Regions from separate parts of the Homo sapiens genome. Here regions 1 and 3 are each linked to region 2. The links are contacts of gene promoters, found by promoter capture Hi-C in human tissues and cell types (Jung and others, 2019). All regions are on one chromosome and are shown on one strand. The core of a region is centred on a gene start or on the middle of the fragment in contact, and the rest is flanking DNA. Distances in the headings are between cores, read along the strand shown.

Evidence for each region. Contacts are between HindIII fragments. The study calls those that stand out against the background at their distance.
Region 1: a fragment that was not itself captured here is called in contact with the fragment with the promoter of ASAP1 in region 2 in 4 of the 25 tissues and cell types used here (IMR-90 fibroblasts, hippocampus, mesenchymal stem cells and 1 more).
Region 3: a fragment that was not itself captured here is called in contact with the fragment with the promoter of ASAP1 in region 2 in 1 of the 25 tissues and cell types used here (IMR-90 fibroblasts).

The regions. Positions count from the first base shown.
Region 1 is chr8:130,401,973-130,405,249 of GRCh38, forward strand. The region is part of intron 1 of ASAP1 (ArfGAP with SH3 domain, ankyrin repeat and PH domain 1); the gene reads right to left. Among named protein-coding and RNA genes, the nearest start is that of ASAP1, 40 kb to the right of the region's middle. The HindIII fragment of the contact is 4,629 bases long and covers 1-3,277 here.
Region 2 is chr8:130,442,374-130,445,664 of GRCh38, forward strand. ASAP1 (ArfGAP with SH3 domain, ankyrin repeat and PH domain 1) reads right to left here and starts at 1,301. Exons shown (of 30, transcript NM_018482.4): 1 at 1,087-1,301. RefSeq lists silencers at 856-935, 986-1,145, 1,156-1,245, 1,286-1,385. The HindIII fragment of the contact is 10,997 bases long and covers 1-3,291 here.
Region 3 is chr8:130,384,309-130,387,507 of GRCh38, forward strand. The region is part of intron 2 of ASAP1 (ArfGAP with SH3 domain, ankyrin repeat and PH domain 1); the gene reads right to left. Among named protein-coding and RNA genes, the nearest start is that of ASAP1, 58 kb to the right of the region's middle. The HindIII fragment of the contact is 6,426 bases long and covers 1-3,199 here.

The DNA.
Region 1 (3,277 bases), core at 92-2,591, 40 kb before region 2:
GGATAGGGGGCAGGACAAAAAGGGGACAAGAGTCATCCGGTGAAACTGGGCAGAAGACATTGTCTCAGACCAAGATCGGATTTCATATGGAGGCTGCACCTTTGTCAGGAATGTTCTTGCACCACAGAGTGGCTGTCCAGAAATATGAAGGAAACTACTATTTCAGCTTCCTATGGTGGGGCTGATACCTCCATCATTGAATCTCTGTGCAAGTAAGTGCTCAGGAATCCTTCTGGCATTCTATTTCTAGCTCTACGTTGGAGAGCAATTTACAAGTCATTAACTTCTCTAGACCTAGGCTCCTAAACATAAAATTAAAGTGTGCTGATGGATGCGACAGACAGACAGACAGACACCTGCAGCTGGGTGCCCACGAGAAAGCAAAAGTGTTCACCCGGCAAAGGAAACCAGTTGCAGGAAGAAGGCAGATATAGAAGAATATACATATTTCAGGACAGCCCCTCTGAACCTGGGAGAGGATTTTAATTAATTCATGCATACCAAAGCTTAATTAATTGCTGAGTGCACAGAGCACAGGAAGTCTGGGATAAAAGATGTTACATAAGGGAACAGCTTCAATATTTGCAGAATAGAGGGAAACAGAGGTGGGGATATAAAAATAAATTGAGCCAAGGGACCTCCTTGGCTTTTATCCAGTGATTCCTAGCTCAATGTGGCATCTCCATCCAGGGCGAAAAACCGAGAGACATCTCAGTTCCACCATCTCCCTCACCCCCATATCCAATCCATCCCCAATTCATGTCTACTTTACTTCCTAAAGATCTCTCCACTTATCTCTCCCCACCTCCACTGGTCCAGCTCTGGACCAAGCCTCCATCATTCTTACCTGGGCCACTGCAGCTGCCTCCTAACTGATCTCCCCTCATCACCATTTCTCCCTCTGAAATCTAGTCTTCCATGCTGAAAGCAGAATAATCTTTTGTGGGGTTTTTTTTTTTTTAATCTTTTATTACAGGGAATTGTGTACAGACATAAAAACAGAGAAGTGTATCATATACCCCCTGAACCCACCAGCCAGTCTAATCACATTAACCCATAATCATACCCACCACATCCAAACCCTCAACCTTCCTGCCCGTGCATTATTATTTTGAGGAAATTTCCAGTCATCTTATCATTTCAGTCATAAATATTACCGCATGGATTTCTAAGATAAGGTCTTTGGAAAAAAATAACACTGTAAAACCACTACCATACCTTAAAAAGATAGCAATAATTCCTTGATATCATCAAATATTCACACAGTGTTCAAATTCCTAATAGTCTCATAAATGTCAAAAATGGTGTCTTTAACAAGTGTTTTTTTTTAAAAAACCCAGATCCAAATAAGACTGACACTTAACAATTGAGTGATATGAAGAATACAATTTTGAAAACACAAATTTGATTGTGTCATCCCTCAACTCTCCACCACTAGCTTAACATCCCTCAACAGCTTCTCAGTGCTTTAGAATAAAAATCCAAATCACTGAACATGTTCTGACTCTTGTTCACCTCTCTGACCTTATCCTGTCTACCAGGCACAATGCTGTAGCCATAAGACATTTTCTTTTTCTTTTTCTTTTTTTTTTTTTTTTTGTGAGACAGTTTCACTCGTTGCCCAGACTGGAGTGCAGTGGCGCGATCTTGGCTCATTGCAACCTCCACCTCCTGGGTTCAATTGATTCTCCTCCCTCAGCCTCCCAAGTAGCTGGGATTACAGGTGTCCGCCACCACGCCCAGCTACTTTTTTGCATTTTTAGTAGAGACAGGGTTTCGCCATGTCGAGCAGGCTGGTCTCGAACTCCTGACCTCAGGTGATCTGCCCACCTTGGCCTCCCAAAGTGCTGGGATTACAGGTGTGAGCCTCTGTGCCCGGCCCATTGGACATTTTCTTAGATCCTGGAACATGCTGCAGTTGTTCCACCACAGGTCCTTTGCCCATGTTGTTCTCTCTGTCTGGAAGGCTTCCTCTCTCATCTTCAGTGCCTAGGTAACTCCTGTACTTCCTTAAATATTATATTCTCAGAGAAACTCTGCATCTTCAGATTAGATCATGGAATTTATCTCAGTTTTTAATTATGTTTCAACGTGAAGACTGATTAATATCTGCTAATTTTCTTCAATTGTAAGCCATGTGGATACAAAGATTGTGTTTGGATTTGTTTATTGGTGTATGTTGCAGCACCAACTCTACAATGCCCGGCACAACAATATTAATAAATATTTGTTGGATAAACGATCAAACCATTTCCTTCAAACTTAGATGCCAACAGCAATTGAATCTTCCTGAGCACTGAATCACAAATTTAAATTAGATGGGGAACTGACAAGCTTATCTTAAAATGCATATGGAAATGCAATGGACTCAGGATAGCCAAAACAATCTTGAAAATGAAGAACAATGTTGGACTTCTATTTCCTGACTTTGAAAGAAATCAGGACAGTGTGGTACTGGCATAAGGATAAACATATGCTATCCTTCAGAATCAAAGATCATGATCTTCCTATAATATTGACCTCCAGAACCCAACTTTACTAAGCACACGCTTATGAAAAATAAGTATCTGTTACTTGCATACATAGTCAATGCCTCTCCCAGCCTGCTCCTCAGTTTATTATTCTTTTGCTTTCCTTGCTTCACCCAAGTGGAGCAGCTGAGTTAGTATGGTAGACTGCATGAGTCTTCCCAGTTCACTTCCAACATGACTGTGAACTACACATTTCTGCCCTTTGTCATGGGACTTTGTAGTACTTCCCACTAGAGTGAATGGTGTTTACTTCCCTGTCCCACTGGATTCTGGACTGGATCACTGACTTGCTGTAGCCAATGGAATGTGGCTAGAAGTGACAGTGTGCTGTTCCCAAGTCTATTCCTCTTGCCCTCTTATGATGCACCACAAAAGGAATATGTCTCCATAGCCGCTGTCTGTTGCTGCCTTTTAGTCTGAACTCAGATCAAAGACATGTGGAGCAGATCCCAATCAACCACAAGTCCGGCATGAACCAGCCATGCAACTAGATCAGCCAAACCACAACCAACCCATAGATCCTTGAGCATGAAGATACATATCTGCTGTCAAACAAGCCTCTGAAATCCTGAGGTTTTTGCTACTCAGAAAAAACTGCCTAATTCACATGGGAATATTAATTTATGAACACCGAGTATCAATAAAGCCATGCACATAGACAGCACAAGTATGATGACCACTGACAGCTGTTCTTGCAGAATTCCCACCTCCTTGGTGCCAGTTGGACTCACACAACAATCCTGCAA
Region 2 (3,291 bases), core at 51-2,550:
CTTTTTCTTTCCAAACTGTTCACTGGGTGTTTCCAGAAGACCCGCATTTTCTTAAAGCTATCTGGCCGCGCTACAATTGCAAAACAGAAAGGCTTTGGGATGAAGGTTGCAATACAGATAACCCTGGCCTAAAAACTGATAAGCTTTTACAATCCCAAAACATTACTCAGCAATCCAGGTCCTGATGTCATCCCAGAATCAATCACGCCAAGATAACCTAACAGAGTAGACAGGGGAAAATGCGAGAGAAAGTTCTTTTGCTTTCCTGACGAGTACAGGTAAAGTTGAGGTCAAGTTAACGATGATGGTCTGCAGTTGACCATCCTTCTCCCTGAGCTACTGGAAAACCACATTATTAAAGGAAACTGCTTTAGAAGTGCCCAAGATGAACCTCTTGGGATGTATCAAACCGCAGAAAACCGGACACCGGCAAGTTTCTTTTTTCTTTGAAACTTCATGTCGCTCTCAGAAAACGCAGCAGGTCCCAAAATGGTACAAGCAGAAAACACAAGCCACTTCACGGTCCGCCCAGGAGCCAACCCCAAGCTCCAAGTAGGACTCCCCCCACCCCCTTCCCTTTCGTTTCTCTTCTTTTGCTTTAGGCAAGTGGCCTGGGGCCTGCCAAGCAGCGCCGGGTCCGGGTAGGGGCCGGGGGCCGCGGGGAACTTTCCTCGGCTGCACCAGAGACAATGCCGGGAGGGCGCCCCATCGGCGGGGTCCGGGCCGCCAAGCACGTCGTCCCGGGCCCTCCCCCGGAGGGGGACGCGAAACCCCCCAGGGCGGGCCCCGTCCCCGGCCCCACTGCAGGGGCCCCCTCTCCCGAGCTGGAGGCGAGGAGACCTCCCCCCCCCACCGGGCGGCCTCGCCCGGCCCCGCAGAGCCTGGCCGCGCGTCCCGCACACGCCCCAGCCCAGGGCCGGCGCCCTCCCCGCGGAGAAGGACACCCCGCTGCGAGAGGAGCCGGGAGCCCGCCCCGCGCCCCGTCCCGGCGCCCTTCTTCGCGCGAGAGACTGGGCAGGGGGCGCCCGCGACTGTGGGCGACTCCGCCCGGCCCCGCCGAGCGCGCCCGAGCGCCCCGCAACTCACCGGGACCTGGCGGGCCGCTGGGCATTATTCCATCGCGGGTTCGGCCGGGCGCTCGCGGCTCTCGGGTGGGAAAGCGAACTGCGACCGGGAAGCGCCGGCTGGGCGGGAGGCGCGGGCCCGGGGCTGCCCAGCGCACAGTGCTCGCCCGCGGCAGCGGCCAGGCCAGGCGAGGCGCGGGAGCCGAGCGCGGCGCAGGAAGGGGCGGGCGACCATGTGCCGAGGGGGAGGAGGCCGCGGCGACGCGAGCGGCTCGCACGATCCCGCTCGGCGGCGGAGGGCGCGGGTTTCAGGAAATCCAAACACTTCGACAGGAAATCGGAATCCTGACTAAGCATTCCCGGCCCCGAGCCGCTCCGCGCCGGGGGCTCCCGCCTCGCTTAACCCTTGGCCCGCCGGCAGCCACGAGGGGGGCGTGGGAGGGGCCCCAGACCTCGGCCGGGGTCGGGCGTCCTTCGCCTTCCGCCCCATGCCCCGGCCGGCCGGCCTCCTCCCCGCCTGAGGTGGAAGGGGTGGGATTTATCCACAGAAAACCCTGGACGCGGAAGGTGCCTTTCTAAGGCCGGGACAGCGGCAAAGGACGTGCCTGTCTTCCATCTGCAGAGGATGGACCTGCACTGTCCTGGCCGTTACCCCTATTTTCAGTAAAGGAATGATTTCACCAGGCTGCCCCCTTTCACCACTTCCTCTCTGCTCTTATAATTTTATTTTTGCCCAGTGCCAAGGGAACAGGACCTTCCCAGTCAGGATAGTATAGGAACAGTATGGAGAGTAATTGTGTGGGCTGCAGGCTCTGTGTCCGGTTGGAATATGGCCTTTTTTCTACTCATGTTACCTTGAGTAACTCGCTCAACTTTCCTGAGCCTCAGTTTCCATTTATGAAATGGATGTTAATTCCACCCTCATAGGTTTGATCTGGAAGCTGAATGTTTAGACAGGGACTGGCACATTGGAAACGCCCAAATAAATGATAGCCATGCTTGTCCTTATTATTACCATTAAAAGACATCAGAGAAAGGAGGATTTTAATTTGTGGGATGTATATTGTGCATATCTATGTCTACTTTCAAAGTCAGAGACAGTAGTCTTTCTTTAGAACTTAATTTCCCTCCTAATCATTGGGTGATTGTTTTTCTTTGCAGCATTTCAGAAACGGCTCTCTGCAGAGGAAATGGTTAGTGGCTGTGGCAGACCCCCTTCTGGTGAAATCCGAAACAGAAAACCTCACAAAATTTGGGATTTTGCTCCTAATCTGAGAGTCTGGGTGTAGTGGGGAGTGGGGGTTGTTAAACAGTCTGGAGCGGATTTACAAAGTTTGGGAAAACCAAAATCAATCTCTGACTGGGCAGAGAGGTCGGGCAGCCAATGAGTGATTCATTGTGGTTTCCCACGGAAATGCCACATTTCGGGGGTGTCTACCTGGAGGATGCAGCTTGGTGGTTTTGCTGTAAGTGTTTCAGATTCCTTTGAAACCCAATCAGACTTTGAAGAGGGAACAACATGCTCATGAGCGAAAACAGAAGCCTGAAATGAACCTGCTGGGAACTGAAAGTTGGGTACCAGCTCGTTTACTCCAAGTAAGGAACAGATACCAGTTTTAGACCCAGCATTGTTCCTTTTCTGCAATTCTCTCTCCGTGGCCAGAAGCAGTAGGACAGCTCTGAGCTGGGCACCAGGAGTCCCAGGGTCCTGCTCCAGGCCCACTGTAGCTGCCGTCCCCTCTGCCTGGAAGAACCCTTGTATGGCTGTTCTTGGCACGCAGCTCACAGCCCAGAAGTCAGCTCCGCAGATAGGTTTTCCCCAACCATGTGATCTGCTTGTCTCTGGCACCTACACCCCACCTCCACCTCTCCCAAACATAGCGCATCCTGTTTGATTGCTTCATAGCCCTTGTCACTGTTTAATGTAGCCTACATGATTGGTTGCTTATTTTTTATCTGCCCCCCACTCTCCCCACTGCATGGGTAAACTGCATTACAGCAGTACCTTTGCCTGTTTCCTTAGAACAGTGCTGGCCCATATGAGACCATCGATAAACACGTGTTGAATAAATGAAAGAAGCAAACAAACTAGAGTTGCAGATGGGACCTCTGCCTGAGGTAGGGTGGTTCACTCGGTCCCGCAGCTCCCTGTGGCTTCCTCTTTGGTGGAGAGATTCAAAAGGGAACGCCCAGTGCGGTGGAAGGAGCACCAGATGGCTCTATTAGT
Region 3 (3,199 bases), core at 574-3,073, 58 kb before region 2:
ATGCAACATCAAAGCTGTCATTGCTATGTAATTTACAGCCTGGTCTGCATACAAGCATCCATTCTGTGTTAGTATGTGCCACCCTCCCCCTCTTCTTACTCAGAGAACCCCACTGCTGGGCAGGGGGCAGAAAGTGGGACATTGGGAGTCAGAAGACGTGGGATTCAGGGAGGATAGTGTGTTTTTTTCAGACGGAGTCTCACTTTGTCTCCCAAGCTGGAGTGCAATGGCGCTATCTTGGCTCACTGCAACCTCCCCCTCGCCGGTTCAAGTGATTCTTGAGCCTTGGCCTCCCGAGTAGCTGGGATTACACAGGCGCCCGCCACCATGCCCGGCTAATGTTTTGTATTTTTAGTAGAGATGGGGTTTCACCATGTTGCCCAGGCTGATCTTGAACTCCTGACCTCAGGTGATCCACTGATAGTGTCTTTTATTATCTGGGGAATGTTGGGCAAGTTACCCTGTCACACTTCACATCCCTCAATGACTCCCCATTGTCCTGTAATTTGTTCTTTCAACAAACATTTACTGACTGTCCACTACATCCTCCAAGCTATGCACTGTGGTGAGCAAGGCCGAGATGACCCCCGCCCTCCTGGAAGTTATAATCTAGTGAGAGAGGCAGAGACTGAACATAAATAAAAGCGAGACAGTGTCCCACGTACATACACACACCATGGCTCTATGGAGGCCGGGGCTTGAGGTCCAAATATTGTCTTTGATCTAACAGGATGAGCTTGAACAAGGAGCTACAAGAGGGGAATGGGAAACATCACCTCCTTCTACTACACAGACATGGCCTGGAGCAATCCCAGAGGCAGAAGGCACGTTGCTAGCTGGTGGTCGCTTGAGGTTCATTTAAAAGAGCCAAGGCAGGCCGGGTGTGGTGGCTCACGCCTGTAATCCCAGCAGTTTGGGAGGCTGAGGTGGGCGGATCACTTGAGGTCAGGAGTTCCAGACCAGCCTGGCCAACATGGTGAAACCCCGTCTCCACTAAAATAAATAAATAAATAAAATAGAGCCAAAGCAGAACAGAGACTTGAGTGTGTCTAATTCCCTCAGCCCCAGAGTTGGTGAATTAAGAGCCAACCGTGGGGCACCTTAGAGTTAGGGCGGGCCTTGTGAGGCCCAAAGCCTCCTCTCCATGGGGAGATGCTGGGTGCTAGAGATTCCTTTCCCAATTTTGTGGCTCAGCGCCCGAGGTGGGGGCGTGCCCAAGAGAGTCTCAGCTTTTCCGACCCGTTACATGGGGATGTTTTCTCAGTTACCAGGTGGGTAGGAATCTCAACTGGTCTCTGACTCTCTCAGAGGGAAGTGATTGGTGAATGGATGTTTATTTGGTGTGTCCACGAGTGGAGGGAGAGTCAGGAGCTTCTCTTCTGCCATGTTGCTGACATCACTCTCCCAACAGAGGCTCTTCAACAGCCCGCTAAGGAAGCTGATTCGAACTTGAGCTACTAACTCTCCCTACATCCAGTTACTTGGTTAGAGGGGTGGGCATTTGCGGTTTTACTTCCCGAGCACCCAGTACTCCTGCCGGTGAATGCATTTCAAATTCCCACTGGGGAGTCCCCCCACATCCTTTGGTTCCTGTGGGTCTCACTTTCAACCTCTCCCTGAAGTCTGGGAATGATCAGGTGACATGGGCTTGTCCAATCAGAATAGTCCATGGCCTTGTCCACAGTGACTGGTACAGGGCTGACCACGTGACCCAAGATAGACCAACGGGAATCAATCCAGAGATTTTGCAAAATCTTCTGGGAAGAAGAGCTCTCTACCTGGTGGGGTCTTTAAACCGGTGGCTTTAGGACCGATGCTTCTGGAAACCATACTTGGAGAACCTGAGAATACAGCCAGTGGAGGAGAAAGCACTAGAGAGGAAGGGGGCGAGAGATTCAGTGGTGATGCAGAGAAAAGGGAGAGACCAAATCTAGGAATCCAGTCATTTCTGGGGCCAGGTTTTACCCCTGGACTCCTCTCTTACCTAAGCCAGTACATTCCCTTCTTGCTTAAGGCAACCTGAATTGGGTTTCTATCACCCAAAACTAAAACTGTGCTGACCACGGAGGTAACACGTTCCATTGCCGAGTCCATAGCTTGAAGCTCTGCCTGCCCCCGCTCCCACACCCTGTCCTGATGAAAAAACACAGCTGGGCACAGCAAATTCAGACTGTGGCCTCAGCCCACAGGGCTGTCGACACAGGGCTAAGCGCTGCGCTCTCCACCCTGTAGATACACAATCGCCACGCGTCGCTTTACTGGTGAAAACTCCATTTCCAGTCTCCTCTTACCAAACTCACATTGTTTGGGAACTTCTGACAACTGTACCTCACTCTGCAGAAACAGTTAGAAGCGGACTCACCTCTGCCGTGGTCTGTGGCTCGGGAGTCTAACAGTCAATTATCTCGCTGCTGATGAAAAGGCAGGAGCGATGAAGACTTAGGGAGCTCACTGCAGCCAGTCGTGCTAATGACCTGTCTGCAGTAACTTTGTAAACCTCCACTTTTAGGTTCATGGCTCAGCCAAAAACTGTCACTCCACACTTCAGCTTGGCAAGCATGTTTGCACCGTGGAAGTGACGTCCTTGTTGCCGTGGTTACCAACGCTCAAGAAAACCTTTGTAGCTGTTTATAAGCACCAAACCCCAAATATTTGCAGAGAACCCCTTTCAGGAGCTTGTGGCACTATGGTGACTCACAAAAAGTTATCCCACGTTTTGTTCTTTATTTTCTTAAAAACAGAGAAAATTGTTCTCTCCTCAAATCTGTAAAATGCATTAGCTCACAGTTTCCATTTTAAACCGAAATCAAACCTGCTTTCATATGAATTGGGTATCCAAGGCTGCTGTTTTTCTTAAGAGAATCTCAGTAAATCCTAACACTCTGGATGACCCAGGAAGAAGAAATGTGAAAATGGAGACCAAGGCCCATTAAAAAACCCAGGTCCGGCGAAAGTGGTGGCTCACACCTGTAATCCCGGCATTTGGGGAGGCCGAGGTGGGCAGATCACTTGAGATCAGGAGTTTGAGACCAGGCTGGGTAACATGGCAAAACCTCGTCCCTACTCAAAATACAAAAATTAGCTGAGCATGGTGGCGCTCGCCTGTAATCCCACTTACTTGGGAGGCTGAGGCAGGAGAATCACTTGGACCCAGGAGGTGGAGGTTGCAATGAGCCAAGATTACACCACTGCACTCCAG